7 separate regions of the Homo sapiens genome follow, and all the other regions are linked to region 3. The links are contacts of gene promoters, found by promoter capture Hi-C in blood cells and fetal thymus (Javierre and others, 2016). All regions are on one chromosome and are shown on one strand. The core of a region is centred on a gene start or on the middle of the fragment in contact, and the rest is flanking DNA. Distances in the headings are between cores, read along the strand shown.

Region 1 (3,851 bases), core at 234-2,733, 780 kb after region 3:
GACAACTGAATAAGTAGTGGTCTACTGCTAATTAGCTGTGTCGTCAGTTTGGTTAGTGATTAAAAGCAAAACCTGTGGAATCAGATGGCCTGAATTCCAGTTCCGGCTTTTCTCCTTTCCAGCTACTTGATCTTGTAAAAGGAGGTCAGTAAATAGGACCTAGTTTATAGGATTGTGGGGAGCTAGGTCAGCTGACTTTCTCTACTGACCGTATAGTAGGAACTTAAAATGTGGGGAAGATTTAGTCCACGGCAGCTGTTGCAGTTGTTGATTTCTTCCTCTCTAGTGACTGTTTGATAAAATAACCACCCTCGAATTGAGATCTCTGATCACTTTGAGTGTGTAATTTTCTTACCTTCTTTCCTGCCTTCTTCCCTGGTCTCCTGATTTTACTAAGCAGGTGGGTCTGTGCTGCTTCTGCTTTTTTCTGGGTATCTGTCCCTCACTCTGCCTTGCACCTCTCTCTTCTTCATCACCGAGTTCAGGTGTCACCCTCTCAGAGAAGCTCCCTCCCAGCCTCTCCTGGAGGCTCTTTGTGGCCCTGTCCTGTTCTCAGGCCTCAGTTCTGGAGCAGGGTAACTGGTGCACATCTCCTGCCTTGCTTACCAGAGTTCCTGGAGGGGGATGCAAGGCTGCTACAGGGAGGGCTGTGGCAGCTGCTCTTCTGTCCCTGGCACAGGGCTTTGCTCAGTGTGGGCAGTTCAATTCCCTGAACTGAATTTTTTTTTTTTTTTTCAAAATTCACACTGGGTGCTTTGGGGCTGTTTTCCCTCTTGCGTGGGGATTGACTCAATTGTGAGACTGTAGCCCTCATTGTGAAGAAGTAGAGAAGCTTCTTTATCCTGCTGTTTTGATACAAGTTGTTACTACAGACTTCTTACATTGTAACTTAAAAAATGCAATCAGTGTAAATTTGTAACACATCAGCATTCTTTTAAATGTTGATTTCGGTGAACTTTTGTTTTTTTTTTTGTGATTTGTAGACTCATTCTCCAAGGTTAATTCCTCCACAGCCCCAGGCTCCCCCTCCACCGCCACCGCCGCCTCAGCAGCAGCCGATCAGAAGCCTGTTCCAGCCGCAGCCGCTGCAGCCGCTGCTTCCGGTGCAGCACCCGCACCACCCATCCCCGCCTCAGGGAATGCACATGCCTCCCCAGCTAGAGACCCCAAGGATGATGATGACCCCGCCACCCGTGACTCCACAGCAGCCCAAGAACATACACATCAACCCGCACTTCAAAGGGACGGTGGTCACGCCTGTTCAAGGTCTGTGTTTCCTTTTACTATTGTAAAGCATAGATGGCCCCAGCTTCCAATGGTTTGACTTAGGATTTTTCCACTGACGCGTTTTTGACTTCATGAGTGTGTGAAAGCAGTATGCGTTCAGAAGAAATCATCGTTCGAATGTTGAGATTTGATCTCTCCTGGGGTAGCAACATGCATCCCAAAACTCCCTCGAAGCTGGGCAGGGGGAGCTGCGGTTCCCAGCCCCGATGATTTTGCCAACTGTGCAATGATGTGAGTGTTCTGAGCTGAAGGTAGGTGAGGCTAAGCTATGATGTTTCATTGGTTGGGCATATTAAATGCATTTTGACTAAGGGTCTTTTCCACTAACGATAGCCTTATTGGGATGTAACCCCATCCTATGTTGAGGAGCATCTGTTATGTTATAGATTACTGTGCATCTGAAGGCATTTATTAGTTTATTGCACTGAAGCCGTCTCTGCGGCAAAATAGTTTTCACATTCAAATTTGTAAGATTGAGTTTTCCTTGGCTCTTCCCCATTCATTTAGATTTTAGTTTGATGGGTCAAGTATATTTCTTTAAAAATGTGTATCTCTTATTGTATAATTGAGTGGAAAGTGCTGAGAGTACAGTCTGAATGCAAAGAATACACTAGAGACCGCTATTGGAATGCCTGAACTGTGACACTTTGTAAGTCTCCCGGTGAGGATGTTTGCAGTGGTGAGTGTCCCTCTTTGGTTCCAGGCAGCATGCCCCCCTTCAATTCCAGTGTCAGCTGGTGGAGAGGGGACACACCATCTTTTAGTTGTTGTAATCAAATAAATACAGATCTGATTATTACTGAAACATGTTCCTTAAGCTAGGAAACGGTTTTTGAGCAGTTTATACGAAGCTTTAACTTCATGTACCTGTGAACACACACATTTATTGAGCTACTACTCTATTTTTGGCATTTGAGTTATATTGACGAACAAACCAGACAAAGCTTTCTTCAACCATGATATTACTTTCTATCAGACAGTCTTATTATTGTTTATTAGCAGTAAACATAAGTATTTTATGTGGCATGTTAGAAGATGAAAATGCAGTGAGAAATTGAGCAGGATGCGGGGAAGGGATGGGTTGTATCTTAAATGGGGTGATCAGGGTGAACTTCACTGAGCAGGAAAGAGTTGAGGGATATCTGTAAGTTAGCAATGTGGCTGTTCAGGGAAGAAGATTGCAGGCAGAGTGATCAGCAAGTATAAGGGGGCTTCCTCCAGGAGAGACCCTGCCTTGTGTGTTTGAGTAGCCAAAAGGAGACCAGCGTGACTTTTGTGGAGTGATCAAAGCAGAGAAGAAATGCAGAACCTGGGTACCGTGGGGCCGTGGGGCCATCCAGCCATTCTCAGGACTTTGGCAGGGAGTGAAATGGGCAGGGATTAGAGGGGTTTGAGCAGAGGAATGACGTGACCTTGTGTATGTTTTAGAAGATTCCTCTTGCTGCCGTGTTGAGAGGAGACTGTCGGGTGGCAAGGGTGGAAGCTGGTGTCTAGCTAGGAGGTGACAGATGATCCTGGTGCAAACCAGTGTGGTAGCAGGGAGAGTGCAGAGAGCTCAGAGCTGGATGAAGTAGGAAGATGGGGCCGATGGGATTTGCTGATGGATTGGATGAGTGTGAGAGGGAGAGAGGAGGTAAGAGTGATGCCCAGGTGACCAGAGCATTTAGAGGGCTGGTCTGGTTGCCATCACCTGAGGTGGGGAGATCAAAAGTTCTGTTTTGGGTGCATTAAATTTGAGATGCCAACTAGCCATGTGAGTGGAGGGGTCTAGTAGGCAGTTGGATGAGAATTCAGTATAGGGGTTTGGGCTCAAAGTACAGGTCAGGAGGTTGTTGGTGAATAGGTGGATTTAGACCCTGCCCTCAAATGAGAGCCCTGGAGGAGGGAGTCTGTGTGTGGGGAGACCAAGGACTGGGACCTAGGGCACTTGACACAGGAGGGGGAGGGGCAGGAGGAGAACCCGTCAGGGAGGCCAAGGACTGGGACCCCGGCACTCGACGTGGGAATGGGGGCAGGAGGAGAGCCTGGCAAAGGAGCCGAGAGGGAGGAAGGAGGATGACGGTCGATGGGGAAGGAAGCAGGTGGCCACGGGCTGGCAGGGCTGCTGCCAATGGGTCAGTGGGTGTGGCCTGCACTTGGGGCGGGGCTGGTGAGGAGGAGGCACAGGCCTGGCTGAGATGGGGCACGGACTTGAGGCCACTGTATTGACAGACTTTGACTGTGTTTTGCTAAAACAGAAGTTGGATGATAATTGATGGGAGCCAAGTGGGCTTGAGAGAAAGTTTTTTATTCTAAGTTTTTTATTCATTGCACTTACAGAAAAGAGCTAGTTAAGAAGGAAAAACATCATTGATGCAGATGAGAGGAAAAACTTGTCTTGTCCAGGACCACGTGCCAGAGGTGGGCTTGCTGAGGGGGAGGAGCAGGGAGTCCTCCACAGCTGGGGCAGATGGATGGGCAGGTGGAGGAGTCTTGTGTCAGTTCTTCCTTGGTGGCCTCAGTTTCCTCGGTGGGTAGCAGGGAGCTAGAGTGGGGAGGTAGGAGGGCGTGTTGAAGGTCTGAGG
Region 2 (4,011 bases), core at 1,394-3,893, 820 kb after region 3:
GAATTGAAGTCCTGTATGCTCTTCCCACATGCTTTCAGAAGTGGAGCATGCCTCATTTCTTTCTCTTGCTTTTCATCATTGTCCATATCAGGTCATTTTCAGTCAGGCACAGGAAGTGCAGTTTTCCACTGTAGTTTGGATAGGTTCAGTACTCTAAAATAAAACCAGTCACTGCAGATAGATTTCCATTGCAGAAGATTCTTCCATAAAGAAGTGATCTGTAGAACACTTGCTTCTTTATCCCACCATATAGTCTTATTAGTTGTGGTAAGTAGCTCTCATCTGTTGTTTTCATGAAAATGAATTCTATAACAAATACTATGGTCTCTGTAATTGCTCTGCCCTATAACAGTGCTATTCATTGTATGCAATTTATATTATAAACTGAGGAAGAAAGTAGGAAAGTTGTAAACATAGGCTTCTAGAGTAAACCAGCTAGCAACGATTGCTTTAAAAGACACAAAAAATGTATACAGTAAAAAAAGAAAATAACTTATCTCTTTTAGTCCATTTCAGGATGGTAGGACATGTGATCATGTGAAGGAGAACGTTACTTCGTCTCCTTGCTTGTGCTTAAGAATAACTCATTTTGTTAGTTGGTTAATTAGCTGAGATTTAGTGCTTTTATTTCTAGGTTTGTAGAACAAAACTTTGACTTTTTCATGTGCTATAAGAAAATCTTTATAAAATACTGTGATTAGAAGTTCCATATGTAGACTATCCAGTAGGATAGTCTTTATCTGAATCTGTTTTCTCACATCTATTCGTTGTAATTAGAAATGTTGAGAAGAATGGTGTTACATAAAATTGTTTTCATATTATATGAATTTGTTACCTTTAGGTGAGAACTCAAGCACTCAGTTTCTTCAGTGTTTATGGCCCTTTTGCTTTTGACCTTGTTTTTAAGTGTACTGTGTTAATCAGTGTCTCATTCTTTTACTTGTGTTACAGACTTTTTTTAAGATGAGATGTTGGCCATTGTTGGGAATTAGGCCTTTTCCCATAGCAACCAGAACTGGTGCTGTTTGTTACAATGGCCGATGTAGAGGGCTGCATGTACTCTGCACTGGCAGGCTGGGAAGTGAAGGGTCCAGTTTCTACCATCAAAGAGCAGCTTTTACACTCATAAACAGCTTTCCTTTAAAAGAATTTTATCTACATGAATTTTTACTCTTTTTCTCCAATGGAAAAAATTTATATCAGACCTAATTCCAAAATCATGCTAATTTTACAATAAATAGGAAAAACAAAGGAATTTTTCATGAAAATAGCTGTCAAACCAGTACTTTGGAACAGCTCTTTATCTTTTACTTCTTAAGTGTCAACTAGCCCACATGTTCGTATCTTAGGGTTTACTCAGTCCCCTCCAATAGCACATTGGCACTTTTGACCTAGCAGGGAAGATGTCTTGTTCGTATTTCTCTGAACCAGAACAAATAGGATTTGCCTAATGGCATTGTTTTTTGTTTTTTTGTGGGTGAGGACTATTTTTGAGAGAACATATTCCTAATGGTGGTTAATTGCAAATTGTGCTTATTTCAGACAATGCAAAAAGGAAGCATTTATTTTGGCTTGTGTTTCTGTTCCTGGCTGCTGGAGAGGCATTCTCTGCATATGGGGGCTGTGGTCTTAATGCTCAGGGATGTTTCCTGCCTATGAAAATCTTCAGGAGCCGAGGGCTGAGCAGACCTTGGCTGACAGGAGCTTGGCATCTGGGGAGGATTGACTTGTGCATGGCACCCATACAGGATATTATTATCTACATCTTAGTTTTACGATTACTTACTTAATGAAAACATTTTATTGTTGGTTCGCGTTTCCCATTTTTTCTAACCTATACTATATCCTAACCTAAATTACCTCCTTCCCTTTTTTCTAATTTAACTAGTGTAACTAAATCTAATGCATTTAATTCAATTATTCTTTGCATTCAGCAGTCTCCTATTCTTCACGTCTCTAGACAGGATAGCAAACTATCTTTGCATAGTGCCATTCAAGAACTTGTGCTCTGGTGGGTGATTGCAGTTGAAATATGTGTCCACAGGATTGTTCACATGTTTATGAAAGCACAGTTTTCTTGCCATTCTTACTATGATATACAATTTAATTAGGTTTCTGTGAGTGTACTCATGTCTGTGAGGCAATTGTGAATCAAATGGAGTTTTCTTCTATATTTTCCATATGTCATTACTTATAATGAAATAATTTATCGTTGGGTTTTATTAAACTGGGTTTTTTGAAAGGTGAGAGAGGCTGAGTCTTAAGACCATAGGTTTTTGTAGTCTGCCCTGTGGTTAATTATATCGCCTTTCAGGTGATTTTCCTTGGTCCTTGTCATTGTAAGAGAATGTCTAGTCCTTTCTTGGTGGTCCCCTTTGTGGCTGCTGCTGCAGTATGCGTGTGCATAGGGAACATTTTCGAAAAGAGATGAGCAGCATGATTCCTGGTATTGTTTCTTACACGATTGTGTTGACTAGGGTCAACGTCTTGGTTTAAAGCTTGAAAAGTGACTATGCAGATTCAAGGGCTATTGTTGGCATTGCGTTTTGCCGTTGGCTGCTCTGAAATTTCTTGCTGTATAGAGATTGGAGCCTTTCTCTAGGACTGAGAGCTCACCTGTGCACGCAGTCATGTGATGGGGTAAAACAGTGTGGCTTTGGGTGCAGAAAGACTCCTGTTTGAATAGTTGTCTGTTCTTTGGGACCCCGAACAATCATTTCATTTTTCTGAACTTTAATTTCCAATCTGCAAGTGGGGTTAGTAAGTCTGCTGTGAGGCATCAGTAAATGAAAGCTTCTGGTACACAGAAGGCATTTCATAACTTCCCATTTTCTTTGTAGAATGCTTCTAAGGCCCCTTTTAGAAATAAATTATGTGATTTTTATGCCAGATAATAGTAGTGGCTATTATTTATTGAGTGTTTAGCATGTACTCACAACATCCTTCTGAGGCGAGTGCGTTGAATCTCAAAGAGGCTACGTAACCAGCCTAGGGCCGCCGCACACCTACTAGGTGGTAAAGCTGGGCTTCCACCTGTGGGTTAGTGCTGAATCTTACGCTCTTCACCCTTGTCTATGATAGTTGTCTATTTTATCTGCTGTGTTTTTCATGGTGTTATTTGTTTCTTGATTGGGGATAATATTCTACTATTAGCAGTCTAGATTGATTCGGAAAATGCTTAATGGGGGCTCCTAGGATAATGATGATGATGATGATGATGGTTAGGTTTCATTTTGGTTGCCAGTGCAACAGACTGATAGTGACTGCCTGGAACAATAGGCTGAGAAGGATTTGATACATGAAAACGCAGCCTGGATGGTAAGTAGCCTCAGCTTTGAATATAGGCCTGGCGAGTGGCTGGGGTTCCATCATCCCGGTTCCAGAACCTGGGCTGCTGGCCCAGGAAAGGGAGTGCATATTGTGTCCTGGTTAAGAATAGCCATCACTTGCTATGTGCTGTGTGAGTCTATCCTTGAACATTTCTGTGTGAATCAAATTAAGTCACATTTTGCATTTAAAACTTTGAAGGGAAATATTAGGGGAATTTGAAATGGAAAGAGATCTTTTGTTATGAGGCTAATCAATTTCTGTGTACGTGAATTTCCATTTTTTTCCCACTCATTTTACTGTCTGGATTTGCTAGGTGAGATTACAAAAGGAACAAATTAATGCTGCTTATAAGTAGTGTTAGCAGCAAATACTGCTAAAATTTTATGTGCCTTCCTGACTATTAAGTAAATAGTTCATCTGTAGAATTATATTTCATGGAATGGTTCTCTTTTAATTACTTAGAATATAGAAATATTCTCCATTTGCCCATTTCTCAGAAAGCTATTTTTCAGTGTTTAAGAAACCAAAAGAACAACCTTGTTACATTATAATTTTGTTCATAACCTATACATAATTCCCAGAAAAACAATTCAAGTAATAACAGCAAATATAAAAAGTATAAAATATTTACTTAGTGTAAACTTATATAGTCATCTAAAACCAGTCTGTGTGATTAAACAC
Region 3 (3,576 bases), core at 1,077-3,576:
TAATTCTAAGCAGTTTCTTCCTGTTGAATGGATGGGGTCTGATGGAACAAAGAGGAGGGCATGAGTTCCTTGTAACGAACACTGTTGAAAGGTTACAGGCTGAGATTGGTATGCCAATACAGGAGGATTGTGATGCCCACCATTTGAATTCTTTGTTTACTGCAAGGAATGGGACCTTGTACCAAGATGGGATTAATTCCAGATAATGTGGCTCCAGTGTCAATAAGTGCTTGTGTTAGTTCTCCATTTATAATAATTTTTATTTCTCCCAGTGTTAGTAAGGAGGAAATGAAAGGCCCCTTTAAGTTCCTTGGAGCACCCCTGTTTTCTTTTCTGCCTCCACTGGTTAACATTCTTTCCTTTTTCATTTTTGGCAACTCTTTTGAAAGTAATCATGCTTTTTGCAAAAATTGCAAAGTGGAAGGTTAGGTCCATTAGGGAGTTTCTAGGGGTATTGTGAAGGCCAAAATTGTGTGAATAGTTGTTTTAATTGTAAATTCATAATTGTATTAGCCTCGCTCTTTTGTTTGGCTTCCCTCTCTCTTTCTTCTTCAGTTAAGGTATCAGATAACCGGTCAATGAGACTGACCAAATCATGAGTATCAGAAGTGGCCCAACTTTGTCTTTTCATTGTTAGTTCCAATTCATCTAACTCATTTGTTAAACTGGAGTCGAGTATCATTTCGATGATTAGCACAGCTTTCTTCGGATAAAACTAAATATTCTTTAAAATTTTTTCCACAGCCCTCAAAGTATATTACTGACTCATCTGAATTTTGTTGATATTGTATTTTGTTCCAGTTGACTACTCTGAAAAACTGAGGAGATAGCCTGATGCAAAGCCTTTGCTGTTCTTCAAGCCTGTCTATGGTCCTCTTCTGAACATTTATGAAGATCCCTAACAGATTTCTCCAGTGAGCTTTGTCTAGCCAGCCTTTAGCTTTAATTTTTGCTACTAACATGTGAATCTGTTGCTAGAAGTCAGAATAACTAGGGTCATAAGCTTGGATATTTAATTCAAATTTCCTAGCAAAACCAATAGGAACCTGGTGAAGATCAAGGAATTCTTTTAACTATGCCTGTAAGTTTGATCATGATTGATAAAGCAGGTTCCCCTCTACCAGATGCTGGATGAAATGGAGCCAAACCAGTGGGAGCAGGAGGAGGGGCAGGAGGAGGAGGAGGAGAAGGTCAATCAGGGCTGGGTAGTTCTGACAAGGAGGCTTAGAGAGACAGGGGAGCAGGGAGAGAAGAAGACATTTCAGTGTTTTTTAAAATTCAGTAATGGTTTTAGAGTGCTTTTTATTTTCTTCCTCTAAGGGAAGAATTCTGTCAAAACCTCTTTTGGATGCTTCTGGGTGCCATTGGAAGTAACTCTCTTAATTATTTTATTTGATTCCATAGCTGGCTTTTTAAAATTGTGCATATAAATAAACTAATCTAGCTATTTCAAAGATAATTCTCTTTGATCATTGTAATTTAGGATCTTCTTAGGTCAAATAAGACCATTTCTCCAACTATCGACAGGAGGTGGCGCCATAAGTCTTGTACATAAACCCCGCTGGAGTTTCCAAAGGTGCATTGCTTAATGAGGGCTTGGTTATAGATGGATAATTGCTCATAATTTGGATTCTCTTTTAAAATGCCCAAAGGCTAAAAGGGAAAAGTGTTTGGGGTCCAGTGTGCTGCTTAGTAGGGATTATTCCTGGAGGTATCACCTACAAGTAGCTTCTTCCCTCTTACCTACCTCAGAGAAACCCAGACATTTCTGGGAGTTCAAGGCACTGGGTGACGAACCCCTTGTGTGTTGTGTGCCCCGGGGGTTAAGCAGCTCTCCCTGTGAGTTCTTCTCTGGGGTTTGTTGTGAGCTTCCACACCCTTGTGTTACCTCCATTGCCTAAGGTGCCTTTCAGCTGGGAGAAAGAGTCCTTTTTGTCTTCAGCTTATCACGTCCTCATTCCAACCTTTTACAAATTTTGGGTGACTCAGGAAGAAACTTTAAATCTCAATGTTAACCAAGATCCAAAGCCTGGCTGGTTTAAAGCCACAAATTTGGCTTAAGCCACAAACATTCACTTTCTCCTTTTACAAAGAAAACTGCTTTCTCTTTAACCAAATGTCAAATGAGAGAAAAGGTTACAAACTTGAGCAAGTAAAAAAATGTCCAATGAGAGAAAAGGTTACAAACTTGAGCAAGTAAAATGTCCAATGAGAGAAAAGGTTACAAAAGAGCAAGTAAGACGAACGAAAACTTAACCTAATAGAAAAGTGAAACCACAAACCTGCCAATAGCAGAATCTTTAGAGAAATGACGCGAAACTCCTGCCTTAAAGCCCTAAATGGCGGCTTCAATATCAGTCCCACTGAGCATGAAATTCATTTACTTAAATAAAATCTGAATCTCAGCCCAAACCTGGGAGATTCAAAACCTGAGAGCGGTCTTACCAAAGACGCCCGTATGTCTGGTGAAGTCAGTTGGATGCAAGCAGTTTGTGCTGGTACCAGGGCCCCAGCTACTGATGAAGTGGCAGGAGTCCACAGAAGCCTACTTCGAAGTTCCCGGGGCTTCCAGGGGAGGTGAGAACACAAGTGATGGGAGAGCCTGGGGAGGGACTGTCTGGTGAGTAAAGGTTGTGCTGCTCTGTGGATGAAATGTCTCTGAGGTCGTAAACATCTCAGAGCCGCCTTCGGGAGAACGGGTGATAGTCATCTGGGCTGATGTCACCTCCAGTGTCCTCTCCTGTGATCTGTGTTAATCCTCCCAGATTGACGAGATTCCTGGGGAGGCGATTCATGACAGCTGAGTTCCTTTTGGAGGATCCGTCTTCAGGCAGGTAAGGGGAGCTCAGAGGAAACCTCTGCCTGCATCCGCTGATTCCCAAGTGCCCTCAGCTCACAGGGATCAGCACTCCCAAGTGCCATGGGGGTGGCATTTCCTGAACTCCTTCAAAGCAATAACAACAGGCTGGGCGTGGTGGCTTACGCCTGTAATCCCAGCACTTTAGGAGGCTGAAGTGTGAGGATTGCTTGAAGCCAGGAGTTCAAGACCAGCCTGGGCAACATAGGGAAACCCTGTCTCTACAAAGAATTAAAAGAAAACTTAGCCAGGAATGGCAGTGCACACATGTGGCCCCGCCTACTCGGGAGACTGAGGTGGGAGGAGTGCTTGAGCCAGGTGGTTGAGGCTGCAGGGAGCTGTGATTGCACCACTGCACTCCAGCCTGGGCAACAGAGTGAGACTCTATCTCAAAACAAACAAACAACAACAACAAAAGTGAAACAATAACAACAACTTTTACAAAACGGACATTTGGGATCTACATGCCACACTCCTAAATGCGTCTCTTAAGCAACAGGTGTCACAGTCTTAAACCTTGTCCTTACCCTCTTCATTCTAGGCACCTGTTTCATTCCAGGTAGGGCTTCCTCCTGGTTTCCTAACACAGCGGGTTGAGATGAACAGCAGAGAAGGACACTGCACACCTCTGCAGGGTCTCCCCTCTGGCCCACCAGCCCTCCCTTCTCCAGCAGTGAAGACCTCACTATGTCATCCAGGCAGGAATAATATAGACAGAA
Region 4 (3,692 bases), core at 842-3,341, 860 kb after region 3:
GTCCAGGCCGGTGTGCAGGGCTTGACAGAGCCACCCGGCAGGACCCTGGGGGAGAGCACAGTGGCTGTGGAAGCACTGTTAGGTATGCGGGAAGAGCGCACATGCAAGGTTCCAGCTGTGTTCATCCCTGAGAGCGGGTTTCACAGGCTCACTGCCTCACGGTGGCTGTCCCTCCCCAGGGCCGGAAGCAGGCCATCCAGGCAGGTGCGGGAGGGCCACACAGCCATTCTTCATGCTCTTCACCTCTGTGTAATGCACATGTGAATTCTAGTGACGTAGTTTCAACTACGTACATTTCAAGAAAATGTACTGTTGTGTGTTTCATTTGTGTGATTTCATACCAAAAACTGAACTACATTGTATGTAATTTGGAAGCCATGTTAATAAAACCTTGCAGTTTCCACTCTGGTTCCGTAACGCAAACGGGGGGCCTTCCACAAGCAGGGTGGCCTGCAGTGGGCAGACGGTGGCTGCTTTCAAAGATACATTTTATCACCCTGTTTTCCCCGTTCTCGTAAGGATGAAAAGGAAAGTGCCTTAGTTTGGACCTAAGTAAGGAAGAAAGAAAGCAAGAGAAGAGGCAAATTTGGGAAATTGAAATGGAGGAGGAAGCAACAGGTAACAAAAGCGAAATGTGTTGGGTGAATTTCTCAAATCCGATTTAATTGAATTTTTAAGCCTAAGTCATAATCTGAAAATGCCATGTGATTAGAGCCCAAAGCAGTTTTCTTCCTCTTTAATCCATAGTTCAAGAATAAGTCATTCCTTGTTTTTAAAACCTGTACTTTGGGTAATGGGATCTCTACAGAACATGGGCAAAAAACGCCTTGACATTTCAGGGAGAAAATGGGGCTTTCTTTGAATTAAGGGTACACTCAAGAGTGGTAGATCCTTTGAAGAAGGTATTGTTATTTCCCATAGTTGCCCCCTGAGCAGTGCCTGGCATGCTGGAGGTCTTGGTGTGTATTTATTTAGTGCAACCAATTACGTGAGGCAGTGTATTTGTGGCAGGCCCAGGGGTGTCCCCGTCCCAGACACAGGAGGTTTGGAAGTGGTTCAGGTGTGTGGCACTGATCATTCCTGTTGAAACATGGCCGCTGAGTCCTGAAATCTCACCCTTGGTTTCTGCCTGTGTCACCGGGAGTGCAGTGGTGCAATCACAGCTCAATGTAGCCCTGATTTCCTGCGCTCAGCTGATCCTCCCACCTCAGCTTCCCCAGTGGCTGGGACCACAGGTGTGCACCACCATGCTCAGCTAATTTTTAATATTTTTAGTAGAGACAGGGTTTCACCATGTTGTCCAGTTTGGTCTTGAACTCCTGGCCCCAAATGATCTGCCTGTCTTCGCCACCCAAAGTGCTTGGATTACAGGTGTGAGCCACCGTGTGCGGCCAGGTCCTTTTCTTATTCGAACATGTATTTGCATGTTTTGAAAGAGTGACAGTCACGTCTGAAGGGAAAAGTAAGTGATAAAAGAGTTCTGTAGGAAACACACAGTACTGACAATTGGTGGCTCTAGGAACAGAAGCACAGAGCCATGTGTTGTACACCTTGAGGTGCAGCTCGTTGCTGTGTGCTTAAAAGAAATGAGAAGCACGGCAGTTTTGAAGCTTCACGCTCAAAAAGGAAGCTTTCTTGCTGACCTTTGGTGTTGCCTGCAGGCCGCAGCGAGAGGGCAGAGGTCCTTGCGGCTCTTCTCTAGGGTCCGACGTAGATCCAGACAGGAAAGTCAGTGGGGCATTCTGGACATGTCGTCGCACCAGGCTGCAGAGCTGGACACTGAGGAAACCCCTCCAGAAAGAAAGCCCTACCTCCCGACCCACTGCAGGTGACTAGAGGACTGGGCAGATGCCCTTCAGACCAGACGGAGAGGAGCACTTCTCTGATTCCAAGTAACAACAGCTGCTGTTGAGGAGGTGTAATGAAAACCGCACCTAAGCTCTTCACCCAGCTTCGAAAGCTAGCCTGGATGTTTTCAATCTCAGACGCTAGTCGTGTTTTTTCTCTAAAATTGACAATGGAGAGAATTTTTTCTCACCATCAAGGGAGAGCATCTGTGGATGGTGTCTGAAGAATGATACCATGTTTTGTTCTCCTTATTTTTTTGGAGACAGGGTCTTTCTTTCTCTGTCACCCAGGCTGGAATGCAGTGGTGCATTCCTGACTCACTGCAGACTTGACCTCCTGGGCTCAAGAGAACCTCCCCTCTCAGCCTCCCGAGTAGCTAGGATTACAGGCGTGCACCACCACACCTGGCTAATTTTTGTATTTTTTGTAGAGATGGGGTTTCACCACATTGCCCAGGCTGGTCTTGAACTCCTGAGCTCAAGCGATCCGCCTGCCTTGGCCTCCCAAAGGGCTGGGATGACAGGCGTGTGCCTTCCAGTGCTGCTCCTGGCTTCGGCTTCTTCCCTGGCCCTTACATTGCCAATGTGCACCTCAGTCACCAAAGGCAGGCTTCGCCTCAGCTTCCCAGGATGGCCGTGCCCCTGAGATGATGGCACCAGCCTTGCCAGGGAGCCTCTGATGACAGCCGTTCAGATGATGTCATGTGAAGCTTCCTGAAATTTTCTCTCCCATTAGTCTTTAATCAAGGGAAAACACTTATTTAACAAAATTAATAGATTAAAATCCCAGTCCTTAGAAAAAAAAATCAGTGAAATAGACAAACCGCTAGCTAATTAAGAAAAAAGAATGTACAAATAAAAAGAAACACAAGAATTGCTATTGATAAAAAGGACTTTTTTAAAATTGTAGAACGTAACATCAAATTATGTAAAACATGTAGCATCAAAATTATACATCAATATATATGATTTTAACTGTCAGTGTCCAGTTCTGTTTTATTACATATGTTCACACTGCTGTACAGCTGTCCCAACCATCCATCTCCAGAACCTTTTCCTCTTACAGAACTGACACTCTGTCCCCATGAAACACAAACTCCCATCCCCTTCCTGAGCCCCCAGCACCCCCCGCCCCCACTCCACTTTCTGCCTCTGAATTTGACGACAATAAGTGCCTCATGTGGTTGGGATCCTATGGTGCTTATCCTTTTGTGACTGGCCTGGTTCACTTGGCACGATGTCCTCAAGGTCCATCATGTGACAGCCTGTGTCAGGATTCCCTTCCTTTTCAAGGCTGAGTCATATTCCATTATAAACACACAGTGCATTTGTTACCCATTCATCCATCAGTGGACACGGGATGCTTGACGATGACGAATGCTGTTACGAACATGAGTGTGCACACGTCTTTTTAAGAGCCTGCTTCCAATTCTTCTGTGTCTGTATGGGGGCGTGGAAATGCTGGGTCGCATGGCAGTTCTATGTTTAATTTTTGAGAAACTGTCATCCTCTTTTCCACCGCAGCCACAACATTTGACATCCCCACCAACAGTGCTCAAGGGTTTCTTCCATTTCGCCACATCTTCACCAACATGTGCTATTTTATGTTTCTTTGTTTTTGTGTGTGTCATAGCCACCCTAATGAGTGTGAGGGGGTGTCTCATTGTGATTTGGAGTTACATTTCCCTAATGGTTAGTGAGGTTGAACATCTTCTCATATGCTTGTGGGTCATTTGTTTATCTTCTGTGGAGAAACACCTATTCAAGTTCGTTGCCCATAAAAGGGATTTTGTAAGCAATAAAAGACTACTTTGTAGATCTTTTTGCAGATAATTTAAAAACCTA
Region 5 (3,558 bases), core at 714-3,213, 800 kb after region 3:
TCATCGTGTTGCCTAGGCTGGTCTCGAACTCCTGGGCTCAAGCAGTCAGCCCACCTTGGGGTCCCAAAGTGCTAAGATTAGAGGTGTGAGGCACTGTCCCCAGCTGAGGCAACCCTTTTCACTCTGGTATATTTCACGGATCAGTCATTGAATGTTTTTTCTGAGTGGTGTCTTGCATTATCTGCCCTCTTTTCTTATCCTGCTACCACTTGGCTGATATGCGGGCATTTGTCATTTTGGAAAATGCGCCGTCATGACTTCTTCCTGATTGGACTGGATTTATCTACCATTCAGTTGCTCTCTTTCCCTGGGCCAGCCTCTCCACCTGTAAAGGTCAGTGGGTACTTCAGGTTCTTTGGGTCCTGTACACTCGATGACATAATGTTACCTCCCTCCTCACTGCCCTTCACCCAGCTGCTTGAGGAGACAGCACCTTGCCTGTAGCGTGTACATACTCCAGGCTACACTTGCAAATCCTTCTTTCTCCGTTCTTACTCTATTTAACTAAATTCCAAGGTCAGAAATTGCCTTGTTTACTCACCCTGAGTAAACGGTTTCTTTCTAAATCTTAGATAGCTCTTTGGTCTTACCTCTTTAATGCAGCTCTTGTAGATTGATCAGGTGAGTACTGATAATTTCTTTTACTTATTAAAGCCTGCCATGAAATTTCCATGACTGTCTGACTTTTGACTTGATGTAGTACTTACTGGTTTTCTTGACTCTGAAACACACGTAGACTTGCACAATTACACTTACATATGTGATGATAAAACATATGATTAGGGACTGATTAGGGAATGTGAGAAAAATCCCTCCCCATTTGCTGTTCATACCAAGGAATTCACAGTGTGCTCTGCAGGTAGGCAGCCTGGGTTTGAATTCAAGTTCTGCCACTTTCTAACCGTATACTAAGTGAAGGTTATTTAAATGGTCAGAAGATTTCTGTGAGCATAATACCTACCTTGTAGGGTTGTGATAAGGATTAAATGAGACAGCATGTGTATTAGTCTGTTTTCATACTGCTATAAAGAATACCCAAGACTGGGTAATTTATAAAGAAAAAAGGTTTAATTGACTCACAGTTCCGCATGGCTGGAGAGGCCTCAGGAAACTTACAATCATGACAGGAGGCAAAGGGGGAGCAAGCACCTTCTTCACGTGGTGGCAGGAGAGAGAGCAAAGTGGGGCAAGTGCCACTTTTAAACCATCAGATCTTGTGAAAACTCACATACCATTATGAGAACAGCGTGGGGGAAACTGCCCCCATGATCCAGTCACCACCCACCAGGTCCCTCCCTCCACTCGTGGGGATTACAGTTCGAGATGAGATTTGGGTGGGGATGCAGAGCCAAACCCTATCAGCATGGAAGTTCTGGCCTCCCACCAGTGATCCTCACTCTTCTCCCAGCTGCAGGGTGAAGAAGCCAGTCAGCATGGTCCTTCTCTAATGATATTATATAGTTAGAATACAAGTTAAAATAATTTCTCTTGGCCAGATGCAGTGACTCACACCTGTAAACCCAGTGATTTGGGAGGCCAAGGTGGGAGGATCCCTTGAGGCCAGGAGTTTCAGACTAGCCTGGGTAACATAGTGAGACCCCATCTCTACAAAAAATTTAAAAATTAGCCAGATATGGTGGCTCATGCCTGTAGTCCCGGGTTCTCTGGAGGCTGAGGCAAGAGGATCACTTGAGCCCAGGAGTTTGAGGATGCAGTGAGCTGTGATCGCACCGCTATACTCCAGTCTGTGTGACAAAGCAAGACCCTGTCTCTTTAACAAAAAAAAAAAAAAAAAAATTCTGTCATACATGTAAGAACTCAGTTCTGTTAATTTTTCTGTCTCTAAACCAGTGATCACCCCAGATCTTGGCTTCTGTTTGGTCCTTGTGCACTGTATGTGTTTCACATCTGCTCAGCTTAAGAGCCTCAGGCAGTTCACTGCCCGAGGTCTAGGTTAGTACATCCTAACCTTTGTTACTTCCTTCCTTCATTCAGCCATTCAGCACCTCTCCCTGTGCTTTGTGGGCAGCTGGTTTTACAGCATGCCGCAGTACTTCCAGGTTGAGAATGTGAGGCTCGGGGAATACCTTGCTATTACAAACAGGCATTTCATTCATCCATTAAATATTTATGACCGCCTGTGTGCCAGGCACTGGGCCAAGTATGGAAACACATTGATGTGTAAGACAGGCCTGGTCTCAGCTCTCACGGACCCGGCAGTTGAAGGGCAGAGAGAAGTGGAAGTGGATTGGAGACATTCAAGAGACAGAGTTTCTAGGACTTGCTGGTACTTTATGAGGGATTTCTGATTTGAACTCAGAAATAAGAATGCAAGCAGGGAATCTATACTGATTTGGTTTTTACCATATATGGAAACATGGAAATATGACAGAAGATATGGAAATATGTCAGAAGCTATATATCGTATTTACAGTCTGGGCTGCTGTCTACAAAAAGGTGTAAAAATGATAACGACATGTATGGTGAACTTTTGTTATTTGCTAGGTACTGTCCTAAGGACTTTCCTGCCCCTGTGAGGTAGGTACTAATTGCTGTTTTGTAGATGAGCAAACTGAGGCCCAGACAGATTCAGTCATGAGCTCAAGGCTGTAGCTGGTAAGTGGCTGGGATGGAGACAGGGCTGGGAGAGCTGTCAGGTTAGATGATGGGTGCTGCTTCTCAGCCTGAGCACCTACAGGATCACTGTAAGTTAGAATAAAGTTCTGCTTAAACATTAGTGATGGATTTTAAAGGCTTTTATTTTCCACTGAGTGTGGAAAAACTATCATGAGAGAATTTTCGGGGCTTTGTTACGTACCAGTAACATTCAGATGCCAGTGACTGTGCATTTAGACAGCATGTAAATAGTCAGTTAAAGGAAAGAAAGTTTTGGGAAGAGATGAAAATCACAATATTAAAGTTCCAGGGAAATCTTCCAGGGAATCTGATAGTGCTTAGAGACCTAAGAGGTGATGTACCTAGTTCTCAGGTAGCTTGGAATTTTATGGAAAACTAAGTTTGTGGACTAAAGTCTTTGAGTTTCTTCTAATTCAGTAACTCTTTCCTTTTAGAAAAGGATGAAAGAGCTAAAGACAGAGTCCTTTTCCCTGATCACAACCTGTGGCAAAGTAAAAAATCGAACCTTGGTTGACTCTCCGCTCAGAGTGGAGTGGAGGCCAGTCTACTTTCCCAGTTACATTTTGCCTTATCTATAATGAGAAAAATCTTTTTGAGGACTTGAAATTAGCTGCCTGATGGAAGGTAGGAAAGAAGGTTTATAAAGAGTCCTGCTGCAGCAGCCGCATGGCCAGTGCTGTGGTGCCCACCTTATCCGAGGGGCGTGTACTGGAAGACCCCCAGTAGAGACCATGGTTTTTCCTGTACATATATACCTAGGATAAAGTTTAATTTACAAATTAGGCACAATAAGAGATGAACAGCAATAGCTAATCATACAATAAAACAGTTATTACTCTTGCATTTTGGGGCCATTATTAAGTAAAATATGAGTTACTTGAATGCAAGCTCTGCAGTACTGTGACAGTCAATCTAATAACC
Region 6 (3,872 bases), core at 143-2,642, 770 kb after region 3:
GTAAAAATTAAAAGAAAATGGAGAATTTTAACCTACTTTAATATTAACAGACCTCAGAATTATTGATCAGATGTAGTCTGATTCACTTGAGGGAGCGTTTTGGTAACATTGTCAGGAGACAGTTTTCTGAGGGTCCTTCATTTAGCTGCAGGTTTTGTGAGCAAAGCGAGCAAATCACTGCCTGTCCTTTGTTCCGGAATATCTTTTAGAGGATTCTGGTGTAGCAGACAGCTACAGATGCAGTGTCTTCCTCTGGAGTCAAGGACAGGTTTGCTTACTCCCCATTGTGACACATTCAGGGTTTCCTGTGCAGAGAAGTCCTTCCTGTAACACAACCTCCTATGTGTGCAGGGTCACCTGGCTCTCTTCACACGGCCCAGTTGGGAGTGGGGCTTCTTGGAGCTGGTGCAGAATGCTACTGCTAGTGATACAGATAACATTGTCCTAGTCTCCTTATTTCTGACGAAGAGTCTTAGCTTTCTTACAGCTTCCGTGAAATGGTGGCCAACTAACTTGTTAGCTTGCAAGTAGAGTAAAATCTTATACTCTTCACTGTTCTTGACAGTATTAAAAGCTTTAAAGCTCCTGTCCTTGGACTCAACAATTCCACTTTAACAAATTTATCCAAAAGAATTAATCTGTGTTCAAAGGTATATGTATCAAGTATTTGTTTGCAGCATTGAAAATAAATGGAACCAATGTATAAAAGAGTAAATCATGGCCTAACCTTAAAGTGTAATGCAGTATACCAAGTGTTGTCTTAGTTCTGTTTGACTTGGAAAGGTGCTCGTGATGCATTAAGTGTAAAGAGCAAGATGATAGAATTCTTCCCTTCAGCTCCCCCTGTAACTGCAAATCTAAATATGTGTGTGTAATTCTCAAAAAAAACAAAAAGTCTATGTAGTTACAGATGGAAATGGTAATAATGATTACTACTAAATGGTGGAATTATTTAGTCTTTGTATTCCAATATTTTCTGATTTAAAAATTTTTTTACTGTAAGCGAGAAATATTCTTTTTCCTTTTTAAATATGAAAAGACAGGGAAACATAAGGTGGTTAAACGCCGACCCTTGAATTTGGAAGGCAAAGAGCTAGAAGTTGCATCTGTTTCACTCTTGTGATTTTTTTTTCTTTTTTTTTTTCTTTTTTTGCTGTTAACACTCTCACATGAAACTTCCTAAGGGTTGTTTTCAGTATGAATCTTTCTAGCAGAAAGTAAGAGCTCATCCATATTAAGTATTTTGTCTTTTTTATACCATCTGCTAGATGTATTATTTACTTTTTACTTTTAAACTGTGTATCTCATAATTTAATTTTAAATTTACTGTTGAAAAATATTTTTAAAAGGTATTCGTATATTTACTTTTTTTATCCTTTCCTTGATGGTTTTAGTTTACTTTGTTTATGTTGCTTGCTTTTGTGATGATGGCAGGTTCTTTGTGATGCTCTTGATCTTAGGACTTTCAGTTGTCCTTCCTGGAGGCTGGTGATGTGCTGGTCTTTTCCACTAGCAATAAATATTTGGGGCTTTTTTTTTTCCCGGCTGCATTGTAGAATATTAGTCAATGAGATAATTATTGGGAACTCATGCGCATAATACTGTTTTAAGTGCTGAGAAGTAGAAGTTGCTAGTATTTCAACTTTTGTAGGATTTGGTTTTGGAGGGCTTGTGATCCATCTTTTTTAGAAGTCTAAATAAACTGTGTAGTCCTCAGGGAGGAGTACCATTTTTAATGTGCCACATATCCGTCTGTTTTGGTGTCTTCCTAGTTCCTGGACTCCCTTTCCTAAATATCTGCATTGTTGCCGAGCATCCTGTTGTGCCCCATCTGTGTTGCCGCACGCTTTGGTCTGCATTGCTTAAGACTGGCAGAAAGGGTGTTGCGGTTTTCCAGATGACTTCATTCTAGGAGCTCTGTTAAGGTCTATATTAGAATCTTAATTATAGAACTTAAAAGCAATTAATTAATTTTAATTGAAAAGCCTATTTTAGGTGACTCCTTTTATTTAACTAATGTTCTTCCTTGGTTCATATAGAGAAATCATTATATTTGAAACAAGTTAGATCTAATTATAAAGACTAAATATCAGTCTTTTATAGTTAATGCGGCCACATTAGTGCTAGTTATGCTATTGTCTTCTAACATAGTTATTTAAAAAGACTTGCCATTTTCACATAGTTTTGGCATGTGTAGAGGAAGAAATGAGAGAAGCTTTAAAAACATATTTGCACCACTTAAAATACTTGTGAAATGGTGATAATGTTTACACTTAGAGATAAGCATAGATGTAAAGTGTACAGTAAGTTTTGATACATGTATACATCCAAGTTACCATCCCTTGGTTGATAAGGAACAGTTCCATTACACAGAATGTTTTTGTCTGTTCAGTCCTGACTCCTCAGAGTAAAGCGTTCTTATTTCTATACCTAGATTGGCATTTCCTAGTCTGGAACATCACCTAAATGTAGTCATATAGTGTGTGTGCGCTCCTGTGTCTTGCTTCTGTTGCTCGGCACGTTTTTGAGATTCATCCAAGTAGTTGTGTGTATTAATAATTTATTCCATTTTATGGATGTACCCCATTTGTTCATTCTCCCAATGATAGACATTTGGGTTGTTTCCAGTTTTTTTGTTATTATGAATAAAGCTACTAAAAGGATCATATTACCCATCTTTTTGTGGATGTATGTTTTTGTTTCTCTTGGTTATTAACAAGTAGTGGAATTGCTGAGACGGTCTAGAGGTATGTTTACTTTTATAACAAACCACTATTGGTTTTCCAAAGTGGCTGTACCATTTGGCACTCCCACCGGTACTGTGGGGGAGTACCTCATTGTTCCTCATCATTTAATGTTGCCAATCTCTTGATTTAATCCTTCTAGTGAGTGTGTCATCGTGGTTTTAGTTTCCATTTGTCTGACCTCTAGTGATGTTGAGCACCATTCCATGTGCGATTGGACTTCCGTATATCTTCTTTGCTTCTAGTTTTAGTCTCTCACTCAAAAAAAAGTGGGTTGTCTTTTTATTTGTTTCTATATATGCTATATATATCCTATATATTTTTCATAGGATATGCTGTCTATACATGTATTTTCTACATGTATCATCTCTATGGAGAATATGTATGCATACATACTGCATATATTCTAGGTAGAGATAGTTGTCTGTATATTCTGGGTATCATTCCATTGGCAGATAATTACATATTACATATTCGTATTATAAATATTTTCTCTGAGTTTGTGGCTTGTGTTTTCATTTTCTTTTTTTCTTTGAGACAGAGTCTCACTCTGGCGCCCAGGCTGGAGTGCAGTGGCATGATCTCGGCTCACTGCACCCTCTGCCTCCTGGGTTCATGTGATTCTCCTGCCTCAGCCTCCTGAGTAGCTGGGATTACAGGCACGTACCACCACACCTGGCTAATTTTTTATATTTTTGGTAGAGACAGGGTTTCACCACGTTGGCCAAGCTGGTCTTGAACTCCTGACCTCAAGTGATCTGCCCGCCTTGGCCTCCCAAAGTGCCGGGATTATAGGCGTGAGCTACCATGCCTGGCCTCATTTTCTTAAATATGTCTTTTCATGAGCAGAAAATTTTAATTTTGTTGAAGTATGAAGAATTTTGTGACCTAAGAAATCTTTGTTTACTCCAAAGTTGTTATCTTGTTTTCTTCTGGACACTTTACAGTATTAATTTTAGTTAAGATTATGATCTATCTCAATATGTGCGCACGTGTGTGTGTGTGTGTGGTATGAGATTCCGTTTTTTCCATACGTTTTTCTAATTGTTCACCACTATTTGTTGTAATGACTTTCCTTTCCCTTTGGAGTGCCACAGTGCTTGTCCTGACAATAAAATTAGGTTTTAG
Region 7 (3,812 bases), core at 668-3,167, 740 kb after region 3:
TTATTTATTTTTTTTAAAGATATGAATGTCTCATGTGTCCAGGCAAGAAAGAGATACCCACTCAAAAAGTTTTTGTTTGTTTTTGTTTTTGTTTTTTTGAGACAGAGTCTGCTCTGGAGTGCAGTGGTGCGATATCAGCTCACTGCAACCTCTACCTCCCAGGTTCAAGCGATTCTCATGCCTCAGTCTCCCGAGTAGCCGGGATTACAGGCATGTGCCACCGTGCCTGGCTAATATTTATATTTTTAGTAGAGAAGGGGTTTCGCCGTGTTGGCCAGGCTGGTCTTGAACTCCTGGTCTCAGGTGATCCAACCACCTCAGCTTCCCAAAGTGTTGAGATTACGGTGTGAATCATCATGCCTGGCCCAAAAAGTTTTAACTGAAGAAATTTAATGACGGGTCTATTTACAGGCCAGGGTTAAAGAACTAATGAGTTCATTCCCATCCAGGGAGTACCAGTTCCTGCCCCGGCCTTGTGGGAAGTGGTGTCCTAGGGCCCAGTGAAGGCTGTTGGGGGAGGGATACTGTAGTCTCTATTTCTTCAGGTGAGAGGGGAGGGGCCGGTCTTTCTCCTCCTACTTGGTGACGTTATGTTGGTGCGTCCCAATGGGCGAATCCATCTGGAAGCCAGAGGTTAGGACCGGCTGTGCCAGCTGCTCCTGGAGGACGCAATCCAGCCACAGAGCAGGCAGGTAAGACGGAGAGTGGACTAGAGTGGGGAGGACCCAGAGACTACAGCCCCACTTACAGTGGTCAAGTTCACTTCTGGTTTTGAAAGGCTGTAGCCAAGTGGCTGACAACAAATACTTGTTTCCTGAAAAACGTCTTTGAGGATAACTTCTGTTTCTAAGTAAAAATATACTTGCTTTCAAAGAGCTCATTGTCTGTAAGCTTTAATAAGAAATGCCTGCCAGAAAGATTGTTCGTACTCAAGTAGTGATTACTGGTGGAATCTTTAGGGAACTCTAGAATTGAACACAGGAAGCCTCTTCATCAGCCCAGTGCTTGTTTGATTTCCTAGAACACTTACTGCTGCTGCCAGCCAGAGTGACTGCTCACCCCTTTGAAACTGCCAGATGGAGACCAGTCATTTCCATTAGTTCATTGTTGTTTTTGCCAAGAGTGGATGTAGTTTTACATATGTAATAAATTTATTCCTTATGTGTACATCCTTTGTGAGGGTCCAGCTTTACGATGACAAGAAGAAAAGTACATGTAGTTTCTGTGGGGTGTGTGCATAGTAGTTAGGACTTGGATTCTCTCACTGGTGTCACCACTTCCTAGCTGGATGACCTTGGGCAAATTAGCATCTTAGTGTCTCTGTTTTCACATTTTGAAAATGGCAACGGTGTGTCTACCTGAGAGGGGTATTATGTCAATGAAAAGCTCGTGTGTGTGGAACATGTCAAGTGGTGCCTGGCACAGAAGTGCATTGAGCGGATGCTGTGGATCGCTGGGGCTGCTGTTTATACTTGCTGTTGTTCTGTACTGAATCCCACTGTCCCCCATCCTGTTTCTCATTAGTCATGAAACAAGTACTAGTCTTCATTTTCTCTACTCATTTTATAGTTGATACACTTACTTATCTTTTTAAAAATGTTTTCGTTGAGAAAAAATAAGTAGTTATTAAAGGTTGATTTATTTCCATGTACTTGTCAGCAAGAGGCACAGATACTTTCTAGATTTTTGCTTGTATAATTACTAATGCCTGTTTTTATGACTTTGTCAGTTTGCCCTGGGAAACTGGCATCACATTCCATTTTTAGTTACTTAAGGTGATGGTATAGACGAGTGCCTGTCTTTAAAAGAGGTGCTTGTGTGTTTTTGGTTATCTGGAATCAAATTTTCAAATGGGGTTATTGTAAATATTGTTGACTAGACAGCATTGTTTTCTCCCTGCCTCTGGAGGGTAGTTGGAACACTGAAGATACAAAAATTGTATTTGATAGATGATAGTGGTTTTAAAATGTTGGAAGAAGCTATATGTTATTCTCTTATAACTATCCTATAGGAGTTTGTGAAAGATTGTTTTTCAAGGGCTGTTAAGTTCTTGTCCTGCATCTGTCACTGCTGTGTGACTTTAGGCAAGTTATTTCATGTCCTATCCTTGTTTTCTTTATCTGTAAAATGTAATATAGGACTTACTGGAGGATAACTTAAAATAACGAATAAAGTCTTTAGTGCATGAATTAAATGATTTGTCAGGTTGTTTTTAGTTCTAAAAGGCGTTATATAGAAACATGCATTTCATTATAACTCCATATATGCATTCCCGGAGATTATAGTATTCTGCAAAGTGGCATGCTAAAAATAAACATGATTTTTTGGTAAAATAATGGTTTTGCTGATTTCTCAATACCTATAGAATTTTGTAACCAGAGCACCTATTAAAAATAAAGCAGCAATTCTAATAACAATATCGATGCAGTTAAATCTCCATGAGTATTGGCACCTAGAGTTACAGTCCATCTAATTGTATTTCCTCTTTGTATATTTCTGTATGTTGACTTTTAATGATATTTGCTTCCAAGAGATTGATTTCCCCAGAATTAAAAACATGATCTAGTGGTAGCCATTTTTATCAACTAAAAAAATCTTGTTTCTAATAAATGCAGTGGAAAATGTCTTCAGCTTTTTTATTTGCTAAGGGTTTCTGTTTTAGTTGTAAAAATAGGGAGAAAGCCGGCTTCTAATCATTTAAAACAGAAATATGCTAGAAAAAATTGCAAATCACTGATACGACATCCATGTTATACAAAGCTAATTTCCCTTAGTTACTGTGATTTGATTTTATGTTCTCGTTCGTTTTTAAAATTTATTTTTTTTTTCAGTTTCTTTTGGTTTGATGAATGTCAAACGGTCTCTAGTGGTTTTGGTTTTTATCTTCCTAATCAATTATATTGTGCATCTTTTCCTTCTTCATTAAGGTTTTTAAAGATAGGAGAAAGCTTAGATATGACTTACTATATTACAGTTTCTGCTTTTACTGATTATTCAACAGACCCAAAGAGATTAAGATCCCATATTAAGGTACAAAACTAAGATTAGAAGTATAGTGAGGCACTACCTATAGCAAAGCCTCCCCATACTTAAAAAGATAAAATGTTCTCTGTGCATTTGAAAATACATTTTTATTATTAATAAAGAAAGAGGAAAGCATAGCAAACTTAATGTAAAAGTATCCAAGCTGGCCGGGCATGGTGGCTCATGCCTGTAATCCCAACACTTTGGGAGGCCAAGGCAGGCGGATCATGAGGTCAGGAGTTCGAGACCAGCCTGGCCAACATGGTGAAATCCCGTCTCTACTAAAGATACACAAAATTAGCCGGGCATAATGTAATCCCAGCTACTTGGGAGGCTGAGGCAGGAGAATTGCTTGAGCCTGGGAGGCAGAGGTTGCAGTCAGCTGAGATTGCACCATTGTACTCCATCCTGGGCAACACGGTGAGGCTTTGTCTCAAAAAAAAAAAAAAAAAAAAAGGTACCTGAGCTGTAGAGTTCTTGGTAAATTTCCAAGTGATCTACAAACTTGCAAGTCTTATGGGAATAATCATTGACATGTCTCTTTTTTTTCTCCCAAGTGAACTTGAAGATGATTTACTTGGAGAAGATTTGCTATCTGGCAAAAAGGTAAGAAGTTTATGTCCTTCTGAGATGAAATACTAGTCATTTAATTATACTTAACATACAGCAGTAATCACTTATACATGGGTTTCATTACTGGAAAGTTGGGTATAGATTAAAATTTTGTAAACTGAATTATTTTTTAAGTGCGCAGGGAATTGACTGTTTATTAGTAAATTCTCTGGTAA

What was found. The method cuts DNA at HindIII sites, captures the fragments that hold promoters and counts their contacts. A CHiCAGO score of 5 or more calls a contact.
Region 1: a fragment that was not itself captured here is called in contact with the fragment with the promoter of PAXIP1-AS2 in region 3 in 7 of 17 cell types (naive CD4 T cells, fetal thymus, activated CD4 T cells and 4 more); the score reaches 8.7 in naive CD4 T cells.
Region 2: a contact is called between a fragment that was not itself captured here and the fragment with the promoter of PAXIP1-AS2 in region 3, in 10 of 17 cell types (fetal thymus, activated CD4 T cells, M1 macrophages and 7 more). The highest score is 12.3, in fetal thymus.
Region 4: a fragment that was not itself captured here is called in contact with the fragment with the promoter of PAXIP1-AS2 in region 3 in 3 of 17 cell types (fetal thymus, M0 macrophages and activated CD4 T cells); the score reaches 8.4 in fetal thymus.
Region 5: a fragment that was not itself captured here is called in contact with the fragment with the promoter of PAXIP1-AS2 in region 3 in 7 of 17 cell types (total B cells, fetal thymus, naive CD8 T cells and 4 more); the score reaches 12.7 in total B cells.
Region 6: a fragment that was not itself captured here is called in contact with the fragment with the promoter of PAXIP1-AS2 in region 3 in 4 of 17 cell types (total CD8 T cells, naive CD8 T cells, monocytes and 1 more); the score reaches 6.9 in total CD8 T cells.
Region 7: a fragment that was not itself captured here is called in contact with the fragment with the promoter of PAXIP1-AS2 in region 3 in 4 of 17 cell types (non-activated CD4 T cells, naive CD8 T cells, total CD4 T cells and 1 more); the score reaches 7.1 in non-activated CD4 T cells.

Annotation. Positions count from the first base shown.
Region 1 is chr7:155,710,190-155,714,040 of GRCh38, forward strand. RBM33 (RNA binding motif protein 33) reads left to right here. Exons shown (of 18, transcript NM_053043.3): 8 at 1,014-1,266. Among named protein-coding and RNA genes, the nearest start is that of RBM33, 67 kb to the left of the region's middle. The HindIII fragment of the contact is 1,306 bases long and covers 831-2,136 here.
Region 2 is chr7:155,746,399-155,750,409 of GRCh38, forward strand. The region is part of intron 14 of RBM33 (RNA binding motif protein 33); the gene reads left to right. Among named protein-coding and RNA genes, the nearest start is that of SHH, 64 kb to the right of the region's middle. The HindIII fragment of the contact is 295 bases long and covers 2,497-2,791 here.
Region 3 is chr7:154,926,191-154,929,766 of GRCh38, forward strand. It overlaps PAXIP1-AS2 (PAXIP1 antisense RNA 2), which reads left to right and starts at 2,327. Exons shown (of 8, transcript NR_024476.1): 1 at 2,327-2,577; 2 at 2,766-2,834. RefSeq lists enhancers at 2,408-2,467, 2,488-2,587, 2,738-2,957. The HindIII fragment of the contact is 7,419 bases long and covers 1,002-3,576 here.
Region 4 is chr7:155,782,595-155,786,286 of GRCh38, forward strand. No RefSeq gene overlaps it. Among named protein-coding and RNA genes, the nearest start is that of SHH, 28 kb to the right of the region's middle. RefSeq lists an enhancer at 1-478 and a silencer at 3,567-3,692. The HindIII fragment of the contact is 927 bases long and covers 1,629-2,555 here.
Region 5 is chr7:155,727,965-155,731,522 of GRCh38, forward strand. All of the region lies in intron 9 of RBM33 (RNA binding motif protein 33), which reads left to right. Among named protein-coding and RNA genes, the nearest start is that of SHH, 83 kb to the right of the region's middle. RefSeq lists an enhancer at 61-561. The HindIII fragment of the contact is 4,593 bases long and covers 1-3,558 here.
Region 6 is chr7:155,692,200-155,696,071 of GRCh38, forward strand. All of the region lies in intron 5 of RBM33 (RNA binding motif protein 33), which reads left to right. Among named protein-coding and RNA genes, the nearest start is that of RBM33, 49 kb to the left of the region's middle. The HindIII fragment of the contact is 1,641 bases long and covers 573-2,213 here.
Region 7 is chr7:155,669,286-155,673,097 of GRCh38, forward strand. It overlaps RBM33 (RNA binding motif protein 33), which reads left to right. Exons shown (of 18, transcript NM_053043.3): 3 at 3,582-3,630. Among named protein-coding and RNA genes, the nearest start is that of RBM33, 27 kb to the left of the region's middle. The HindIII fragment of the contact is 2,057 bases long and covers 890-2,946 here.